Regions from separate parts of the Homo sapiens genome. Here region 2 is linked to region 1. Evidence: promoter capture Hi-C in 16 types of primary human blood cells and fetal thymus (Javierre and others, 2016). All regions are on one chromosome and are shown on one strand. The core of a region is centred on a gene start or on the middle of the fragment in contact, and the rest is flanking DNA. Distances in the headings are between cores, read along the strand shown. Region 1 holds the start of SELENOT (selenoprotein T). Region 2 overlaps MED12L (mediator complex subunit 12L).

Region 1 (7,593 bases), core at 1,363-3,862:
CTTTTGATTGTTAGCAGTGGTAATTAATGAAAAGCTGCATTTTATAATACTGACTTCAAATGGAATTTTAAAATTCTCATGTTTATCCTCAAACGTATTAGCTTCCTGTCCTTTCTCAAACAAACTTGCAAATTAATGTCCACAAGATTCTAGCAAAACCAGAAACCCAATATTCACTTTACCATAAACAGATTAATCTCTGGGGGGAAAAGCAACAAACAACAAGCTAAGTTGATCTGTATTTGGTGGGTCTTATTAATAACGTTATTTCCCATCTACAGATTAAACAAAAAATGATCTCCGGTGGATAGTGTCAGAAAAATAAAAATAAAAATAATTTTTTAAATGGAAGCATTTTTGTTATATAACATGCTCAGAGTGACTGTAAAAGAAAATTATTAGACTTTTGGGACAGGTCTGTACTTAAAAACAAAGAAAAACAAAGTATCAAAAGTTTAACTGAAGTACTTACTACTTTTTTTTTAAGTTTAATTTGAAGGACTGAATGCCCTTCCCTACGTTTGTTTACACATTTTGAAAACCTTGCTATGAATAGCCTTGGTGGAAGATACACCTGGTAAATTATTGTGACAAGTGTTCCAAAAAAAGCAAACGTAAAAGGGGTATTTTGGAAAAGCAAAAATACAACCAAGAGATAAAAGTAGGATACAGAAAAATTAAATAATTTGAAAACTGCAATTTTTTAACACTTAAATCCGTAAGTATCACAACCCTTAACAATCTTTAGGTTAGTAAGATGATTACCACCTTCTAATTTAAAAATTAAGGAAAAAAGTTAATGGATAAACCATTCTCCCATTTGCAGTATTACATGAAAGATGATATATTCCAGAAACATAGTACATTGTACAGGGAGGTTTTTTTTTTTTTTTTTGAGACGGAGTTTCGCTCTTGTTGCCCAGGCTGGAGTGCAATGGCGCGTTCTCGGCTCACCGCAACCTCCGCTTCCCGGGTTCAAGCGATTCTCCTGCCTCAGCCTCCCAAGTAGTTGGGATTACAGGCATGCGCCACCACGCCAGGCTAATTTTTGTATTTTTAGTAGAGATGGGGGTTTCTCCATGTTGGTCAGGCTGGTCTCGAACTCCCGACCTCAGGTGATCCGCTAGCCTCGGCCTCCAAAGTGCTGGGATTACAGGCGTGAGCCAGCGAGCCCGGCCTTGTTTGTTTTTAATCAGGAGAAATTGCAATGTTTTAGTTTTCACTCAAAAAAATAAAGTCTCACCATCTTATTTTCTAACTCAAACATCACCTTAAGCCGATTTTTAAAAATTATTTTAAAGGTTTGCTTGGTCTTCAGTGAGTAAGTAAAAAGCTAGTTGGAGAAGTAGAAAATCAAAACTTTAATATACTAATACATGAAGTTCTTAAAAGAAGGTTTTAAATGAATGATGTCCAACACCAACATTCCAATGTATCCGGACTCTGATGATTTACTAATCTGGCTATTCTGGGATGGTCGGTTTATCCTGAGAAAATGTCATCTTTGGAGGTGTAAGATTCTCATTTCTATAATTTTACAATTTTGGTGTTTTTTCCCCCATCTTCAGAGCCTTTCAATCCCCACCCGCAACCCCACTTACCGTATAAAATGCATCATTGCCCTGCTTCTAACGATTAGGTTAAAAACAAAATCATTTAAAGAACACTGTCGAAAACTGCCGAGATCTGCTGGATACACAAGACAACTGAAAGGTAGAAAGAGATGCCAGAGCAGGCAACTCCTGGGAGGCAGGTGAGGAGGGAATGCGAGCGAACTGTCAATGTTTAGAAGAACAACGTGCTCCTTTTCTGACACTTTGGAAATGGCAAACAGAACCAGCATCCCCAGACCTTCCTTCCACCCCCTCCAGCTGTCAGACGCCCCATTCGCAAACTCAACAGTCCCCCCAGCAAGTTCAGGAGAAAAACGGCGTCTGTCACTCCCGGATCCTCTCCAATGACCCGAATTAACCTTCATCTAGCCAGGCAGCGAAGCCGCCCGGCATTACCCCGGAAAAGAGGGCAGAAAAAGTGAACTGACAAACGGTTGGCGCTCCTCCGCCGACGCGGCGCCTACTCATCCCCATCTCCGCAGGCAGCCGGGGTGGCTATGGCGTGACGCCGCCAACCAGTCCTCCGTACTAACAGGTGTCCCCCAGTCTTCGCCTTTCAGCGTTTAACCTTCTCGCGCCCTCCTTCCCCATTCCCACTGTTCTAGGAGGCAAAAAACAAGTGAGCAGTTATACCTGGAAAAGGAGGGCGGCCTGACCGCGCTAAGGGGCCGCGAGAAGGCTGGCTGTGGAAGGGCGCCGGCACAGTTCTACGAGGCCAGCGAAGATGCGGCCATTTAGGCCGCGAAGCCGGGGCCTCGCGTAGCCAATGGCGCCGAGCAGAGGCGCGGCGGGGTGGCCGGGGCCCAGTGCACATACTCACCAAATCTGGAACTTGAGCAGCGGCCCCGTGGCGTACTGCATCTTTAATCTCTTGCTGGGCACGCCGCCCAGATTGGCCGAGGCCTCGCTCCGGACCATCGCAGACGCCGCCACTAGGAGAAGCAGCAGAAGCCTCATCTTAAATGAGCCAGCCACTTCGGCCGCCCTCAGACAGACTGCAGCCAGCCCAAAGCCCAGGAGCGAGCTGCTCCCCACTGCGCAGGCGCGATCAGCCAAGGTCGGGGGAGGGGAGCAGTAATGCGCCTGCGCGGCCCGGCGCCCGCGCACACTCCTGGAGTGAAGAGCCGACCTGTTTCACTGTCCTGACTCACCACCATCTTGGTAGTGTGCAAGACTCTGGGACGGCATGAGAAAGGCAGAAAGGGAGCAAAGGAGCTGGTGGGGTGTCACAGGGCCTATGTATGAGGCAGATGTGAGTTCTGCATCCAGTTTTGCAATTTATCCATTTACCTGCCTGAGACTTGGAAACACCTACTTTATAGTCCTGATTCAAGTGTTGGCGGATGGAAGGGAGGAGACTCCTGACCCTCAGAATGGTAATGCTGAAATTTTTTGGGTGCGCTGTTATGGCCTTTTCTTTGATCTTACAATATTGCTTTCTCCTGAAAGAATATTAAACATAAGTTTTAGGAAACCTTTGGACAATTCCAAACATATCCAAAAATAGAATAACTACCTTAGCAAGCTTTAACAGTTACTATACATTTTGACAATCTTGATTTGTCTATATCTCTAAACACTTCTTCCCTTCCTAGGCATATTTGGAAGCAAATCTCAGACATCATATCATTTCATCTGTATATATATATTTTTAAACACGGTCTCACTGTCACCCAGGCTGGAGTTCAGTGGCGTGATCATAGCTTACTGCAGCCTCACACCCCTGGGCTCAAGCAGTCCTGCCTCAGCTTCCCAAGTGGTTAGGAATACAGGCACAGGCAACTATGCCTGGCTTACAATTATTTAAGCACATATTTCTAAAAAAGAATTATTATTAAAAAGAAAAAAAATTGACCACAGTGTTTCACATGTCCGTGTGAAGAGACTACCAAACAGGCTTTGTGTGAGCAACACAGCTGTTTATTTCACCTGGGTGCAAGCGGGCCGAGTCCGAAAAGGGAGTCAGCAAAGGGTGGTGGGATTATCATTGGTTCTTATAGGTTTTGGGATAGGCGGTGGAGTTAAGAGCAATATTTTGGGGGCAGGGGTTGGATCTCACAAAGTACATTCTCAAGGGTGGGGAGAATTACAAAGAACCTTCTTAAGGGTGGGGGAGATTACTGATCAACAAAGTACATTGATCAGTTAGGGTGGGGCAGAAACAAATCACAATGGTGGAATGTTATCAGTTAAGGCTATTTTCACTTCTGTGGATCTTCAGTTGCTTCAGGCCATCTGGATGTATATGTGCAGGTCACTGGGGATATGATGGCTTAGCTTAGGCTCAGAGGCCTGACATTCCTGTCTTCTTATATTAATAAGAAAAATAAAACAAAATAGTGGTAAAGTGTTGGGGCAGCGAAAATTTTTGGGGGTGGTATGGAGAGATAATAGGCGATGTTTCTCAGGGCTGCTTCGAGCGAGATTAGGGGCGGCGTGGGAACCCACAGTGGGAGAGATTCAACTGAAGAAAGATTTGGGGGTAAGGGGTGATATTGTGGGGTTGTTAGAAGGAGCATTTGTCGTATAGAATTATTGGAGATGGCCTGGATGCAGTTTTGTATGAATTGAGAAACTAAATGAAAGACACAAGGTCCGAATAAAAGAAGGAGAAAAATAGGTATTAAAGGACTAAGAATTGGGAGTACCCAGGACATCCAATTAGAGAGTGTCCAAGGGGGTTCAACGTTGTTGTCTGCTTGGTTGGAGAGTTTTTGGGCTCTATCTCTATCCTTAAGTTTTTTTATGTTGTCATATACCAGGCCAGATTGATTTAGGTAAAAACAACACTCTTCATTTAAAAATATACAAAGTCCTCCTTTTTCAGCAGTGAGTAAGTCGAGGCTTCAGTGATTTTCAAGGAAAGAGAGGAGGTGGGAAGGCCAAACTGAGGAATTATGTCTGACAGAAGGGAAGAAATGACCGCGGTGGCCTTCTTAGACCCTGTGGGAAAGGCCTCTACCCACCCAGTGAAATGTCTACCCAAACCAAGAGGTATTTTAGTTTCCTGACTTGAAGCATGTGAGTAAAGTCAATTTGCCAGTCCTCGGCGGGGCAAATCCCCGAGCTTGATGTGTAGGGAAGGGAGGGGGCCTGAACAATCCCTGCAGGGTAGTAGAATAGCAGATGGAACATTGAGAAGTGATTTCCTTGAGGATAGATTTCCACGATGGAAAGGAAATGAGAGGTTCTAAGAGACGGGTTAGCAGCTTGTAACCTACATGGAAGTGGTTATGAAATGACGACAGAATAGAATGGGCCTGTGAGGCTGGAAGGAGATATTTTCCTTGGTCCAAGAACCATTTGCCTTGTGTGGGAAGAGATTGATAGGCGGAAGTTTCAGTGGGGGAGTAGGTGGGAGTGACCAGATGAGAAGGAGAAAAACTGCCATGAAGGATAGAAGTTAGAATGCTAGCTGCTTTTTAGCTACCTTATCAGCATAAGCGTTGCCTTGAGCAGTGAGATCTGATGCCTTGTGATGGCTGTTGCAGTGAGACTCCACTTCCTTTGGAAGTACGGCCTTGCTCAGAGGCCTGACACACAGTATCATTGTCTCACCTTTAAAAAATAGTAATTGCGTAATATTAGTCAGTGTTCAAATATCCTGTGGTCTCAATAACTACTTATTTTCCTACTGTTCATTTGTTAAAATCAGAATCAAAATGAAATTTATACATTGTCATTGGTTGATGTGTCTTTTAGGACAAGTCAAAGACTTTTAAGACCAGGAACACACCAGTAATTGAAAAATTTTGTTTATCATTAATTGCAGCAAGAGGGATGCTATGGTTTGAATATGTCCCCCAAAAAGCATATGTTGGAAACTTAATGCCCAATGTAACAGTGTTGGGAGATGGGGCCTAATGGGAGGGCTCCACCCTCATGAATGGATTAATGCCAATTATGAAAGGGCTTAAGGCTTCGATTTCTATCTGTTGCTCTTTCACTCTTGCACTCTCCTGCACATTTACCTTCCTCCATTGGATAACAACACAAAGCCCCCATAAGATGTGGAGCCCTTGATCTTGGAATTTTCAGCTTCCAGAACTATAAGAAATAAATCTCTGTCTTTATTAATTACCCAATCTCAGTTATTCTGTTATAGCAGCCCAAGATGGACTAAGACGGGGGAACGCACACCATGGGAAACCATGAGAAGACTCAATTAGGAGGTGTTAGGATCTGGGGCTTGATTGGATGATTTGGAAAATGGAGCTGGGGTGCTGAGCGGTTCTATTATCAGAGATGTTCAAACCAGAGTGACTTCATCTTGAGTAGGGACTGAGTAAAATGAGTTGGAGACCTGCTGGGCTGCATTCCCAGGAGGTTAGGCATTCTTAGTCACAGGATGAGATAGGAGGTCAGCACAAGATTCAAGTCACAAAGACCCAGCTGATAAAACAGGATACGGTAAAGAAGCCAAAACCAAGATAGAGACAAAAGTGACTTCTTGCTAATTATAATATATTCACATGCTATCTCCTTTACTGCTTATTGTATGCTAATTTAACACACTAGCATGCTAAAGGACACCCCCACCAGTGCAGTGAAAGTTTACAAATGCCATGGCAACACCTGGAAACTACCCTATATGGTTGAAAAGAAAGAGGAACTCTTTATTCTGGGGAATTCTTGCCCTTTTCCCCAGAAAACTCATGAATAATTCACCCCTTGTTTGGCATATAATCAAGAAATAACCATAAAAATAGCCAACCAGCAGCCCTCAGGGCTGCTCTGTATATGCAGTAGCCATTCTTTTATTCCTTTACTTTCTTAATAAACTTGCTTTCACTTTACTCCATGGACTTGCCCCCAGTCCTTTCTTGAGTGAGATCCAAAAATTGACTCTTGGGGTCTGGATCAGAACCCCTTTCCAGTAAAATTAGATTTTTTTTTTTGAGACATAGTCTCACTCTGCCTAGGAGACCAGCCTGGGCAACATGATGAAACCCTGCCTCTACAAAAAATTTTAAAATTAGCTAGGCATGGTGGCACACACCTATCGCCCCAGTTACTCAGGAGACTGCGGTGGGAGGATCACCTGAGCCAGGAAGGTCGAGTCTGCAGTGAGCCCTGATGGTGCCACTGCACTCCAGCCTGAGTGACAGAGTGAGACCTCGTCTCAAAAAAAATAAGATAATGGGTGATACAGCTAGCCATAAAATGTCTTTAAACAATGGGGTTGGTGCGACTGAAGTTCCATACTCCTGTTTCCCTGGACCTGATAAATTTTACATACATTGCCAGGCACAGTGGCTCAGGCCTGTAATCCCAGTACTTGGGAGGCCGAGGCGCACGCATCACAAGGTCAGGAAATCGAGACCATCCAGGCTAACATGCTGAAACCCCATCTCTACTAAAAATACAAAAAATTAGCTGGGTGTGGTGGCGGGCGCCTATAGTCCCAGGAGGCTGAGGCAGGAGAATGGTGTGAACCCGGGAGGCGGAGCTTGCAGTGAGCCGAGATTGTGCCACTGCACTCCAGCCTGGGTGACAGAGTGAGACTCTGTCTCTAAAAAAAAAAGAAAAAAAAAAAATTTGCATACCTGATATAGCTCAGGCTACTCAGCTATTTTCCTTTCCTCAGGTCTAATTGTTAAAGCAGCAGCAGTCCCTCTTCGTGGCCAAGGAAAGGAATGTTTGGTGTTTTGTGGGTAGCTCAGTGACCTTTTTTTGGTCTGTGCTTAAACAAAATTAAATATCTTTTTTTCTTTTGCAATTTATTTTATTTATGTATCTCCCAACCTGCCCTGCCTCTTTGTCTCTTTTTCCCTTGTGACTTACTTGCCGAAGAAACCATGTGTTTATGGGTTTTGCTGCTGATTACAAACCCATACACTGCCCTTTTTTTTTTTTTTTTTTTTTTTGAGACAGGGTCTTGCCCTGTTGCCCAGGCTAGAGTGCAGTGGCACCATCTTGGCTCACTGCAACCTCTACCACCTGGGCTCAAGCGATTCTCCCACCTTAGCCACCCAAGTAG
Region 2 (7,593 bases), core at 3,055-5,554, 530 kb before region 1:
AGCAATAAGCACTCTTTGTGCTCAACTCTTGGTTTCTAATACCACTCTCCTTTAAAGACAACCAGGGCTCCTTGGAGAAATGGCTCATTATAGGATTGGAACAGAAAATATACACAATGAACATGGAATGCACCTTCTAGTGCCAGAAAAGAAGAAAGTACTTAGAAAGACAAAAACAAAAGCAAACTAAGATGGGTATGTCAAATGGACACAGGACACAGCTGAAAGAGCTCTCAATGGACAAAGGTGGAACAAAATAGAGTATTATAAACCAAAAGATGAAGTAAACATCTATGAATCAATACTGATAGAAATGCTTGAATACATACATACATTAATGAATGAAAGAATAGTAGGTAGGTAGGCAGGTAGGTAGGTAGGTAGGTAGATAAGAGACAAATCACCCATGCAGAAGAATTTTAAATAAGTAGATACTCTGCCCTCAAGGAGGGGGATGGTTAACTCCCCACTTCTTAAGTGTGGACTGTCCATATTACTTCCTTCCAAAGAGTAAAGTGTGGAAAGGGATGGGAGGGAAATAACTTTACACTGTAAAACCTGGTAAGTGCTACCTCAGCCAGGTGATCAAGGTTAACATCAATAGTCATAAGTCATGGTGATAGCATGTACCCTTGATGTAACATGATGAGAATGACATTTGACTTCTGTAACCCTGGTCTAACCATAAGAAAAATATCAGACAAATTCCAACAGAAGATAACCCTACAATATACCTGACTAGTACTCCTCAAAACTGTCAAACATCACTGAAACTGAGAAAATGTCACAGCCAAGAGAAGCCTAGGGAGATATGAGAACTAAATGTAATATAATATCCTGAATAAGATCCTGAAATGGAAAAGGGTCATTAGGTTAAAACTAAGGAAATCCAAAGTATGGACTGACTTTTATAATAATCAATATTGGTTCATTAATTATAATAAATGTATCATATTAATGCAAAATGTTAATAATGGGAGAAACTGTTTGCAAGGGTGAGAGAATGCATGGGAACTCTGTACTATCTTCTCAATTTCTCTGTAAATCTAAAAAGTTTTTTTAACATTTTTGAAATAAAAACAAGGGACTGGCCAAACTGTGGTACATCCACACAATGAAGGACTAAGAGGCCACAAAAAGGAACAGAGAACATCAAGTAATCACTAGGATATTGTTAAGTTAAAAAAAAAGGCAAGGTATCCAACAGTATATATAGTATGCTAATTACTATGTAAGGAGAAAGAAGAAATAAGAAGATATAAGTATTTGCATATTTTTTGCAAAAATAAAAACTGGAAGATTAAAAACTAGTAAGAAATGGTTACATCTGAAGATGGGGTAAAGGGAATTGTGTGAAAAGATGGAGATAGAAGCAAAACTTCTGCACATCTTTATATAGTTTTGACTCTTGAATATGTCAAGGTATTACATATTCAAAATATAAAATTAGTTCATAAGGGAAAAAAATCAAACCCTAAAATGGAAAACAAACTGAAACAGTGTACCTTACTGCAGAGAGAATCATTTTAAGTGAAACACAGTGTAAAGCTTAAAAAAAAAAAATTTCACATACTTTTAATGTATCAGATTATAATTCTCAAGCCAATATGTTTGTAGCAAGATGAAGCAGGTAAGTAACCATGTTCATTTACTAGAAATCATTTGATTGTTCATGTAATAGAAATGAAATAAACATAAAATTGAAGAAATTACTAAAAACTCTTTCTTGTTAAATAGGAAATGCTAAAGATAAGCTGGAAATAGGAAAACCCCCACATACATGCACACACATGCAGATATGTGTGTCTCCATCCATTTACCCACTGATGGGGCCTAGACACAACATCCCAGTAGCAATGAGCACCTTTAGCACCCAGATCTTGCTTTCTAAATACCATTCCCCACTAGAAAGAAGCAGAGTTCCTTAGACAAAAGGCTCTTTGGAGATCTGAGGCAGGAAAATTACAAGCGCCTGGGACATCTTTCTGTGCCAGAAAGCAAGGAGATGTCCCATGACAAATGGTGTCATGTCAAAAGTTTACAAGGAGCTAGAAGGGTCTCTGGCCAATTTTGGGGCAATTTTAACACGAAATTTAACAGAAGTGTACTTGGTTGTAAAATACAGAATAAATAAAACTTCATGAGCCCATAACAATGATCAAAAATAAACTTTTTTTCGTTCTTTTTTTTTTTTTTCTTTTTTTTTTTGAGACGGAGTCTACCTCTGTTACCAGGCTGGAGTGCAGTGGTGCGATCTCAGCTCACTACAACCTCCGCCTCCCAGGTTCAAGCGATTCTCCTGCCTCAGCCTCCTGAGTAGCTGGGATTACAGGCACATGCCGCCATGCCCAGTTAATTTTTGTATTTTTAGTAGAGATGGGGTTTCACCATGTTGGCCAGGATGGTCTTGATCTCCTGACCTCGTGATCCACCCACCTTAGCCTCCCAAAGTGCTGGAATTACAGGTGTGAGCCACCGCACACAGCCTAAACTTTTTTAATAAATAAAAAAATAGAGAAACATTTTTCACCACTGTGGAGATGCAACAATTTCTACTCCCAAAATTGAAATCAAAGGAAAAGAATTTAGCATTTATTCTGCCTTTTTTAGAAAGAACTGTAATTTATCACATGAGAGAAAGCCCTCATTTACTGAAGAATGCCTACATCTTGCCATTCCCAAAGAAATAACTATTCCAGGCTCAGTTCATCAACAGATGTTAAAACTTTTAGGTAAAAGATTATTGAGGAATGGAATAGCTGCAGGTACCAAAGTCTCACCCCCAATAGCCCCATTCCTTCTATTGGAGAATGGTTTTTACCAGATAGCCAGAGTTACCTCACCGGTTAAAACCTATTTTTCATGCCTAAGCAAAGTGTGAATTTAAACTAAGCTTATACAAGCACTTCTGTCCAATCTTCAGGATTACTTTCAGCATAAACAAGGCAGATATCGCCTTTATGACAAATGAGATAGAAGGAACACTGTGAAAATGTGGAGGCAATCTTGACAAAACTAAACGCTTGTCCCTGGAATCAAAAAAGTTAGTATGCAATGTCTTCACAGACCCAAACTGCAAGTAAGCTGGTAGGCTTAGATAAGAAACCAGACTGTCAATTATGAGTTTAGCAGGACTTATTTTTGCAGTCCAAATGGCTCAGTGAATATGTCACAAATTAATTACCCACTGTGAAAGAAGGGTGGCTGTTTATTCTTTGTATTTTGGGAGCGATAAGGATAGTGGTTACAAGAGTATAGTCAACCAAGAAAAGTCTCTCATCTGACTCAAATCCCCACAAAACCTCAGGTGGCACAGAGGAAATGACTAGGGGTAAACAGAGCAGTGCCCCAGGCAGTTTAACCACGAAGCATTTTAAGCTTCTTTGAATCTATCTGTTCCCCCAAAAAAGACCTCATGCGCATGATATGTCTTGTCACTTTTCACCATATTGAATACCCAAAAATTCCTAGGCAGAATTAAGGCTGCTCATCTTGCAAGCAGTTTCATATTTCTTTCTCTAGTTGCCATGGCACCCTGGACTTTGCTTTGCTCCTCCTGTTCCCCATAGCACCCATGAGAACAAGAGTTCTGACTCCTCAGATGCTGCTCAGAGCCACCAGTCCCGCAGCCTGCTTCCTGCCAGCATCTTTCCACCTAGAGATGCTTGTTGCCTCCAGTGGCCCAGACCCACACCACACACAGGCCACCAGCAGCTATCACCTCACAGCGAGGAGTGAGGAGCAGGCACTCTAGTGGCAGGTGCCTGGGCAGGGATCCAACTCCATCTAGGCCAGCAAGTTACTTAACTTCTCTGAGACTCAGGTCCCTCATACACAAAATGGAATAATGAAACCTACATTGCAAGGTTACAGATAAAGTCTGCAAAGTTCCCAACGGAGTAACACAGGATAATCAATAAATACTGGCTGGTAACAGCAGTTCTAAGTAGCAGTTGTCGCATATTATCAATGGTCTACATTTACTGTATGCCAGTCACTGTTCTAAACACTTTAAAGGTATCGATTCATTTCATTCTTAAAAAGTACTATCAGGCCAGGTGTGGTAGCTCACGCCTGTAATCCCAGCCCTTTGGGAGGCCAAGGTGGGCAGATCACCTGAGGTCAGGAGTTCAAGACCAACCTGGCCAACATGGTGAAACCTCGTCTCTACAAAAATTAGAGGAGCACGATGGCAGGTGCCTGTAATCCCAGCTACTTGGGAGGCTGAGGTGGGAGAATTGCTTGAACCTGAGAGCGGAGGTTGGCGTGAGCCGAGATCACACCAATGCACTCCAGCCTGAGCAACAGAGGAGACTCCATCTCAAATAAAAATAAATAAATAAATAAGTACTGTCAATTATCCTTATTTTTTTACAGACAAGAAACTGAGGGAAAGAGTCATAACAATAATAGTAATAATAAACCCTTCCATGGCTTTTCATCATGCACCAGAGGGAACTCACATATCTCACTCTGGCAAACAAACCTTCACACAGGCTTTCAGCACCTCCCCACTGGTAACTGATGCTCAAGCTGAAGTTAAATCCTGGAGGTGCAACAAGTCAAACTATTTGATAACGTATTTCTCTGCAGACTTCATCCTTCTGTCAGAAATGCCCTTCCCTGAACAACAGCCCACTCCAGCTGTGTCCTCCTAGGAAGCGTCTCTTCTTGCAAAAGTATACACCTAAGTCACTTCCTCTGTGAATCTCCTGGATGTCCCAAGTTCCCTCAGTGGCTTATTCCTTAAGACTTCCTCTGTATTTTCTTCCTGTCACTATGAAGTCTTCCTTCTCTAATATTTGATTGTTTGGATGCATGTCCCCTACTCATACTGCAAATACCTAGAGGGCAGTGATTACACTGTCACACTCTTGTCCTCACTGACCAGTGGTGTCCAGCACAGGCTCTGGAGCCAAGTTTGGACACTTACGCTGAGGGGTTCTGTGCACCACCTGCACATCACCATCCTCATCCACGAAATGAGAATAACGTATCTCTTTCACAGGCTATCTGAATAATAAGTCATAAAACGGACAAAATATACATAGAACCCAGCAAACATTTACTAATGAAATGGGGAACACTGTATCACTGCACAACAGAAGAACCGTGGCAGAGAGCCAATAGACCTGGTGAGGGACTGACCATTTTCAAACAGGCCAAAAAAAAAAAAAAAACAACCCCACAACAGCAAGGGATGGGGCATTCCCATGGCTGACAAGCTTCTCCAAACAACCTAGATCATTACCCAGCACACATCGGGAGCTGATTCAACCTTGAAATGCAGTTAGCACCGTATCCCTGCTTATCACAATACCGGGGATTCCATAAGTGCTCAAGAAATGCTGTTAACAGTGACAGCAATAACAGCAATAAATGCTGTAGTTATTATTAGTTGATTCAGCAACAATAAGACTCCTCATGGGGAAAATTCCTATAAATAAATGTACAAAATTCCGTTATTTACTATAAAGTCATATTTCCTAATCTGTTCAAAGACTTCAATTGCATAACTCAATGTGAGTTTTACTTTTTCATTTTTAAGTATTAGCTAGCCTGTTTTAAATAATTTTCTCTGGTGAGCTCAAAATATTTAAGGCAGCTGAACAATCTTGTTCTCTTAAAAATGAAACTTAATTCAACTCTAAAAATATCTGAAACCGAACATGCATTATTTCTGGCGTACTCTCCCTCAAGTAGCAACATCAACTATTTCATGACATTTTCTAAACATCGTGTCCACCTAAACCTTTTTTTTTTTTCAGGTCTCACAAGGACTAAGAATTACAAACTCTTCTTTCAGGCTTCCCTAATTCCCCTCTATTTAAAATCTCTGTCCTGATACTCAGATTTGTCCAAGTCAAATATTTCATTACCCACTTTGAAGTTACACATGAGACCTCACTCAGAAACCCAAGGCGCTTCTCACTCCTCTCACTTTTGTGTATACAGTGTACTGGGTACATCTTTGCTGACTGCAAGCTCCCCAGGGCAGCAACCCATTTAATCTACATTTGAGATCTGTAACTCTCTGCATAACGACAGTAAGGATCTCTGTGTTGCTCCTTGTTGCTGTGAGCCCACTTAACTTTGGGAAAAGTTCCCTTCAATAAAATCAAACAGCAGTGCTTTATAGCTCTGCTCCAATGCTGAAAGTAGGAACTGAAAATAAAACACGTTTCTATTACAAAGGAATAAAAGTCATTTCTACCGAAAACACTTTACAAATCCTAATAACAATCATCAAGACAACGGAAGTCATAAAACCAATGCCAGAAAAGGATGACACTTGATAGTCAATCTTTTCCCAAACGTGCTGAATGATTCTTTTTGCTATCAATGCCAGAACACAGAACCTATTACTAGAAGTTAATCTTCTGAAGTGTATGTGATTTAATCCAATTCAACACATATATATGTGTGTACTCCCTTGGCTGTATCCCTTGCTAGGAGTGTGAAACTTGCTACATTACATTATGGCTATGTCTACACAGCCAAATGCTTTCAAATATACTGTATAATTTGCTTTTAAAAGTTGAAAAAGCTGCTGACGACAAAGGCGAATGTCAGAGGTATCAGGTGTAACAAAGTGATAGTAAAACAAGATTAGATATTTGGAAAACATGCTCTTTTCATATAGTATAAACAGAATCCTTCATTTTCAATTAAAATACATATAAGAATATAGAGAAAGGAACTGTATATTTACACAGGTAAATTACTAATTACAAAGGGTAGAATAGTAACTTTGAAGGAGAAAAATCCGATAGACACCACCTTACCCAAATCATCAAAGTTACCACCATCAGTATTGGGATATGATACACTGATACATTCACAGCATCACCTCCAGGCTATTCCAAGCAAAGGTATGTAACTTAAATCTATTAATGAGAAACTGGAGAAAGGAAAAATCAATGGACAGTCTACAAAATAACTGGTGTGCCTCCTTCAAAAATATCAAGGTCAAAAGAAAATGGCTAATGAACTGTTCTAGATTAAAGACAACTAAAAAAACATGACAAAGGCAACACAGACACTGGATTGAATCAAGGTTGAAAAGACTGATGTCTGGAGAAGCTAAGGACTTTGCATTAAATCACCTTGTCTCTTAGTGGCAGCACTGATAAAAGTAAAGCCCAAAGCTCCCTCTGAGATGGTAGACCTGGGAACTTAGGGGTAAACTCCTGAAATTCATACATTTTAAAAATATTTCTCTTTTTAGCCTTTGGCCTGTCTTAGTTCAAAGCCTGGATACTCTAACATAAGAAATATTATTATAGGCACTTGATCTTCATGGAGTTAATATTCACAATTTTAAATATACATTAATAATCATAAAAACCCATGAACTGCAATATACTGTAAATCAACTGGATCAAAAAACAGAATCGTATGTTATCTGGCTTACAGAGGAAGAAAAAATACAGCTAGTGACTAAACCTAATAATCCATCCATTATGGGTATGCAAAAAATAAAAGTTTTAACTTTTTGGTGGGGAGAAAAATAACCCTCCAAAGTCCAACCAGCCATAGTGATAAGGAAATTAATGGTAAAACTAATGAATCCAACAAGTCCATAACGTTCTT

What was found. The method cuts DNA at HindIII sites, captures the fragments that hold promoters and counts their contacts. A CHiCAGO score of 5 or more calls a contact.
Region 2: a fragment that was not itself captured here is called in contact with the fragment with the promoter of SELENOT in region 1 in 3 of 17 cell types (megakaryocytes, erythroblasts and naive CD8 T cells); the score reaches 7.4 in megakaryocytes.

The regions. Positions count from the first base shown.
Region 1 is chr3:150,598,340-150,605,932 of GRCh38, reverse strand. It overlaps SELENOT (selenoprotein T), which reads right to left and starts at 2,612. Exons shown (of 6, transcript NM_016275.5): 1 at 2,434-2,612. The coding sequence starts at 2,570. It overlaps LOC124900547 (a long non-coding RNA gene), which reads left to right and starts at 2,750. Exons shown (of 2, transcript XR_007096128.1): 1 at 2,750-2,989. RefSeq lists enhancers at 2,154-2,453, 1,728-2,501, 2,474-2,623, 2,744-2,823, 5,832-6,041 and 2 more. The HindIII fragment of the contact is 3,294 bases long and covers 1-3,140 here.
Region 2 is chr3:151,131,776-151,139,368 of GRCh38, reverse strand. All of the region lies in intron 5 of MED12L (mediator complex subunit 12L), which reads right to left. Among named protein-coding and RNA genes, the nearest start is that of MED12L, 50 kb to the right of the region's middle. The HindIII fragment of the contact is 1,847 bases long and covers 3,381-5,227 here.